2 separate regions of the Homo sapiens genome follow, and region 2 is linked to region 1. The links are contacts of gene promoters, found by promoter capture Hi-C in blood cells and fetal thymus (Javierre and others, 2016). All regions are on one chromosome and are shown on one strand. Each heading gives the region's core, a stretch centred on a gene start or on the middle of the fragment in contact. The rest is flanking DNA. Distances are from core to core; before and after follow the strand shown.

The links. The method cuts DNA at HindIII sites, captures the fragments that hold promoters and counts their contacts. A CHiCAGO score of 5 or more calls a contact.
Region 2: a contact is called between a fragment that was not itself captured here and the fragment with the promoter of BUB1B in region 1, in 3 of 17 cell types (M0 macrophages, naive B cells and total B cells). The highest score is 5.9, in M0 macrophages.

What each region holds. Positions count from the first base shown.
Region 1 is chr15:40,159,100-40,162,407 of GRCh38, reverse strand. It overlaps BUB1B (BUB1 mitotic checkpoint serine/threonine kinase B), which reads right to left and starts at 1,339. Exons shown (of 23, transcript NM_001211.6): 1 at 1,153-1,339. The coding sequence starts at 1,187. RefSeq lists enhancers at 184-948, 956-1,085, 1,106-1,205. The HindIII fragment of the contact is 2,113 bases long and covers 431-2,543 here.
Region 2 is chr15:40,113,750-40,116,927 of GRCh38, reverse strand. No RefSeq gene overlaps it. Among named protein-coding and RNA genes, the nearest start is that of BMF, 6.5 kb to the right of the region's middle. RefSeq lists enhancers at 113-616, 942-1,001. The HindIII fragment of the contact is 4,689 bases long and covers 1-3,178 here.

The DNA.
Region 1 (3,308 bases), core at 90-2,589:
GATTATGTCTTTCCTTTGCTCAAAACCTTCCAATGACTTTTGATTACAACTAGAGTAAAAGCTAAGTCCTTACAATCTGCATCTTCACCATTTTTACATAATATCCTTTTACTCTTCTAGTTAATTCTGCTCCAGTGACAATGGCCTTGGACATGCCAGGTGCAACTTCCTCCCCTAGCTCTCACCCTCAGCCTTTGTACTCTCCTCAGATATAGAACCTCTAGCTTTTGAGATTCCTTCAAGTCTTGACCAAAGTGACATCTCCTCAGTGAGACTCCAGTGTTCAAGTTAAATTGCACCAATCCCCACCCCCAATATTCACTACACCCAGTTGCTTTATTATTTTTTTTAGTACTGACCACATCTCCACCTAACAGTTTGTCTTTATTGTCTGACTCCCCCACCTTCATCCCATGCCAGAACTTAAGCTTCATGAGGGTTGAGATTTTTGTGTCTGTATATTTGCTGCACTCAGAGCTTAGCCAAAAAAATACTTGTTACATGAATGAAAGAGCCCATGACATAGCACTTATCTAGGTATTGCGGGCACCACAGTGAAAACACATACAGATTTCCAACCTAGAACTGCAATATAGTTTTTTTAATACAAGGAAAAGCCGCAAACATGCAGAAAAAGGCTTTTAGATCTCTATGTTATTGGCATAATTTAGATCTCTATGATATTGGCTAAAGGCTTTCAGATCTCTGTGCTATTGGCATAGCACCTGCCATTTGTTGAGCGCTTATTTGGAAGCAGTTACTTAACAAATACTTTGAATTCCCCCAGAACCACGTAAGGCAGCATTAACATCAGCATTTTCCATACAAACGATTTGCCCAAGGTCAAACAACTAGCAGGTGGCTGAGCTGAGTTACAAACAGACAACATTGCAACTTCCAAACTCTTTGTTCCGCTGGGGTCCCGCAGCCTTCTTCGCTTTGAAGCTGGATGCGGCAGGATTCGCACGTGCCCTCAGTCCACTGCGTTTTCACCTCCACCTCCGGCATTCTACTCCAAAAGGAAGGAGGCTCCGGTGGGGTCTGTTCTGACGGTGCCGATCTCCCCCTCGACTGCTCCGAGCGGAGCCTTCTATTACCTACCAGGCCGTGTCCTCTCAGGCCCAGCCCCCAGCAGCTTTCTCCCGTACCTACCTCAGAGCACCCCCTTCCTTCTTCACCGCCGCCATCCTGCATTCCTGGCTCAGGTCCTCGTCCTGCTGCAGGCCTTTCCTCTGGGCCACAGACCGCCTGGGCTTTCTTCCGCAACCTGCCCTCGGAGCTACAGAAGCGACCAAGGCACGTACACGACTCCCTAACAAACCGGCCACCTCAAGCCCACACCCCTAGCCGCCAAGTTTCAAATTTAACGGTCCCGCGCGGTCGACGTGGCCACGCCCCTCCGCTCCTCCGTGCTCTCGCGTCTCGCCCAAGGCATTCTGGGGCTTGTAGTTTATGCCTGTTTAGTCCGCGAACTCGCGGTGCATAATGGGAATTGTAGTTTTTGGGATTCAATGGCCGTGGAAGTGCAGCAGGCTTAGGCAAAACAAATACCCCCAGGTGCTGTCTTGAGTCGCGGCTCGAAGCCGAGTCTCTGAGCCGAGCGAGGAACACTTAAAGCACCAGAACTTCTTTGCTGTTTTGAGTGTTGGGAGATGTCTCTGAGTGCTTGCACTTGGCGTGACTCTTGTAGGGTGACTACCCCTGCTGTCTGCCCCAAATCTCACCCGTCCGGAGTTCTTAGGCCACTGACCTAGCTGTTTCCTGCCCCACCCTTGAATTCAAAAAGCTGGATTCTAGTTCTGTAAAATCATACCAAATGTGCAACCTTAGGCAAGCTACATAATCTTTCTGACCATCAGTTTTCCTCATCTATAAAGTGATGATACTGTCTTGCTTTCTCTTCTGCTCAGTCCACAAGCAGTAAACACAGCCATGCTATGGTTCCCAAGGTGTTACCTCTTTTCCCCTTCAGGGGACTAGCCTTGACTGACATTAAACTGTTTGTTGCAATTTCAATTTTCTGAGGAAGAAATTGTGATAGCTCAGATGTGACCAGGGGAGTAGAGTCTTTTTGTTTGTTTGGTTGGTTGGTTTTGTTTTAGAGACAGGGTCTTCTTCTTGCTCTGTTGCCCAGGCTGGAGTGCAGTAGCCCCATCATGGGGCTACTGCATTCCAGCCTCCAACTCCCGGGGTCAAGTGATCCTCCCACCTCAGCCTCCGCAGTAGCTGCGATTACAGGCATTAGCCACCTTGAGGAAGGAACAGGGTCATTTAAGAAAGCCCAGGTACAGGGGAGTTCTCCTTTATGACTGTGGGGATGGTCAGAGAGGTGGCACTTCCCAGAGGCAGATGCTGAGGATACTGTCCACTACCCTCTGGTTCTTAGTTCCCAGCTTTCTGTCTTTGTTCATGTTATATAAGTCCTTCTTTCCTCTGAATCATCAGGACTCTTGATTCCAAAGAAGTAGAAATCCAACTTAAATCGGCCTACTCAGAAAAGGGAATTTACTGTCTTTTATATATAAAAGACTTCAGATAAAGCTTAACCCAGGACTCATGTGGACTGGGCCTCTCTCCATTTCTCGCCTCTACTCTTGTTGTTGGCTTATTGTCATTCTCCATTGGGTAACAGATTCACGACTTTATCCTTACAGGTTCAAATTCAGACTTAGGAGTCACCCTGCTTAACCCCTTCCTCCCAAACAGTCACTGGGGATAGTGGATTCAGGGCTTTGATTGTTCAGAACCAAGTCATGTGTTTCACCTTGGGACTGAGAGAGGGGAAGGGGTGATTCCTCATAGGAAATTTTGGTTACTCTTTACATCAAAGTCCTCCACATCCAGGAAGCTTTCCTGGATCATATGAGGTGTGGTGCGTGGGATTCTCTCACTGGCTCATTTTATCTCTTACCTTATGTCAGTACTGGCCTAGCACTTCATTTTCTTTCAACAGGGTGTCCTGTTCATATCTACAGCTTCTCAATTTTGACTATTTCCTACAAACAATCTTGGAAACGTAGTGTTTGGTCTTTTGATCTCAGTCTTTCCTATAACCTAGTCGGATTCCCCATAAACTCTGCTACGATGTAGAATGCATTCAGGCTAAACCCCTTGCTTGTTTCACTACGGGAAAAGAAGGAGGTAGGTAAAACAAAACTCCAAAATGTATGACAGAAGGTACTCTGTGGTTTAATTTGGAAAATGAGTTTTTAGGGATGTCCCATGAACTGATGGGTGGAGCTCCCAGCAAGCAAGGTTTGCCTTTGAGGAAGAGGAATGCTGAAAGCAGCAGGGTTTGTCTGTGGACT
Region 2 (3,178 bases), core at 1-2,500, 45 kb after region 1:
ATGCAGGAAGAAACCACCGTAGGAAGAGAGATGAAGAGATAAAGAAAGAGTGCTACGTGAGGAGGAGGGAGACAGAAGTTGGCAGAGAGGGAAAGAACATCCAGGACAGGCAGAAGAGAAACTACAGGGACAAGGATCTCTCCTCAGTTCCAGAAGATTCCATGGCAATAGAGGGAGGAAAGTGGCTAGGCGTGGTGGCTCACGCCTGTAATCCCAGCACTTTGGGAGGCAGAAGGGGCGGATCACCTGAGGTCAGGAGTTCGAGACCAGCCTGGGTAATATGGCGAAACTCCGTCTCTGCTAAAAATGCAAAAATTAGCCAGGCATGGTGGCTCACACTTGTAATCCCAGCTACTGGGGAGGCTGAGGCGGGAGGATCACTTGAACCCAGGAGGCCGAGGTTGCAGTGAGCCAAGACTGTGCCACCACTGCACTCCAGCCTGGGTAACAAAGTGAGACCCTGTTTCAAGAAAAAAAATAATAATAGAGGGAGGAAAGCAAAGCCCAGTGTAGCATGTCTGCCAGTCGGATGGGCTGAGACCCCCACATCAGAGACATCCTGGCTGTGTTGGCAGGCTCTTGAGGGCCTTCTTCTCGCTGGCCCACGTCATTGAAAGGTAGCGATAAGGTTATGGTACCTGCCTGGGACTCCCCTCCCTTGCTTGTCTCCTGCATCCGAGAGGACTTTTCTCTGAGCCCACAGGATCTCCGAATGGTCCTTAGCTGAGAAGCCCCCTTTAGCCGGACCCCCCTCACCCACCCGGCAGTGATGAGAAAATGGACCTGTACAAATCTCATCTAAGTAGCAGACTGCAGTCCCATGTCCAGTCATCACATTAGCCTAAAGCTACAGGGCCAGGGCAGGGGCTGGAAGACAGGGCAGCCTGTTGAATGTAGTCAAGGATAGAAGTAGGAACCGAAAATGTGCCTTAGAGCTGATGCTGGGCCGCTGGACCGCTTCCTGCGGGTGATGCAATCGCTTCTGCCACAGGTGGTGGTGGCAGTGGGAGTGTTTGCAACTGAGAGAGCTGGAATGTACCTCGCTAGGCTGCCTCAGGCTTGGCCTTCCTGTTCAGGGGGCAGCCGGGGTCAGTGTGTTATTGATGGGGGAAGGGGAGTGAATCCTGTCTGTGGGGAGGGACTGAGTGTGCCTAAAGGCAGTAGAGGTATGGGATGTTAGCACTGGCTTTCATGCCAGGGTGGCTTCAGACTGTGCTTCTGTTGCTGTGGGCCCATACTCGGAGAAGTAAACTTAGTTTTCTTAAGTGTAAAACACGGCTGATGGTAATAGGTCTATCTTGAGGTTGTTAAAGCCTGAATGAGACACTGTTTGACACAACATGTCTGGCACATAGTAAATGCTCAGCAGGTGGGAGTTGTTTTCATTACAGCCCAGGGACCTGGGCAGGATTGCGCTAAGAGGTGGGTGTCAGCCCCAAATTCTCTTTTTTTTTTTTTTTTTTTTTGAGATGGAGTTTTGCTCTTGTTGCCCAGGCTGGAGTGCAATGGCATGATCTCAGCTCACCGCAACCGCCGCCTCCCAGGTTCAAGCGATTCTCCTGCCGCAGCCACCCGAGTTGCTGGGATTATAGGCATGTGCCACCACGCCCAGCTAATTTTGTATTTTTAGTAGAAGATGGGGTTTCTCCATCTCCAGTCAGGCTGGTCTCGAACTCCCGACCTCAGGTAATCCATCCACCTCGGCCTCCCAAAGTGCTGGGATTATAGGCGTGAGCCACCATGCCCGGCCCGTCAGCCCTAAATTCTAATCCCTGCTAAGCCAGACTATTTACCCGAGTTATGCCACCTCTGAATCCATAAGGGCATATAAATGCATGTTGGAAAAGATCACCTGTGGTAGCAGAGCTGGGAGCTGAATCCAGATCTCCTGACATCTAGCCTAGAGCTCTTTCTGTTTTTTTGTTTGTTTGTTTTTGTTTTTTGTTTTTTAAGAGACAGGGTCTCACTCTGTCACTCACCCTGGAGTGCAGTGGTGCAATCGTATCCCCCAACTCCTAGGCTCAAGTGATTCTCCTGTCTCAGCCTCCCAAGTAGCTAGAACCATAGGCGTGCACCACCATGTCTAGCTAATTTTTAAATGTTTTGTAGAGAAAGGGTCTCACTATGTTGCCTAGGCTGGTCTTAAGTGATTCCCCTGGCATCAAATAATCTTCCTGGCTTGGCTTCCCAAAGTGCTGGGATAAATAGACATGAGCTACTGCACCTGGCCACACTAGCCCAGAGCTCTGTCTACTCCACCTGATAACAGGTGGGCTTTGAGAGCAGGGAAATGGGGCTTCAGACATTTCCAGATGCTTCTATGCGAGGAAAGGCAAGACCATTTGGGAGAAGGCTGTTTTTCCTTAGCTTGTTTAGTTCCAGCTCTTCTTGCTATACCCTCCTCTAATCCTCAGTGTCTCTTTGAGCATGTGTATAGGTGTGTATATGCAAGTTCATGTTTGAGAAAAAAGGGTTCTGATGTGTTCAATGATCCCCAAGGGGATTGTGTCTGTACCTCCAGCTGCTGGCGTGGAGCCTAACATATGGCAAGTGCTCAGTAAATGTCTGATAAACTCACACCTGAGGGATTGAACCCCTGTCTCATGAAGCCCCTTCCAGAGAGAGACCCTGTTCCCCTCCAGGACAGTGGGGACTAAGGAGTTGGCTGAAAAACAGCTGATCTAACTCACTTCTCAGCCCAGATCATCTTGAACACCAAGTTCAAAACCTGGGACACTTGAAGCCGGGAAGGGACTGGTCCCCAGCTCTTCTGGGTGGCAGGTTTCCTTGATAGCAATAAATCTGGCCTCAGCTAGAAATTTCTGAGATTTCCCTGCCAATCCCAAAAAGAAGTGTGTACTGTTGTAGTGATGTACATTTGACCAGGAAAAAGGCTGACATCCTGGGAGAAGTAGAGTTAAAGAAAGTGTATTTCTGTTGGATTTCTTCATTCCTTGGCAGGATAAAGCTAACTTCTTTTCCACGGGCTGCACACTGGGTTGAGGAGAGGGGAGCTGAGGATACTGCCCTGAGGGCCTGGCTCATAGTTTTTCCAGTAAATTTGTCTCCAAAGACTTAGTGAGTGACTCATGTGCCAAGCCTGGAGCAGAGCAGTCGGAGGGTATCAAGGAGTAGATGGCATCACCCTTGTCTTCTTGGAGGATCATCTCGCTGGTGA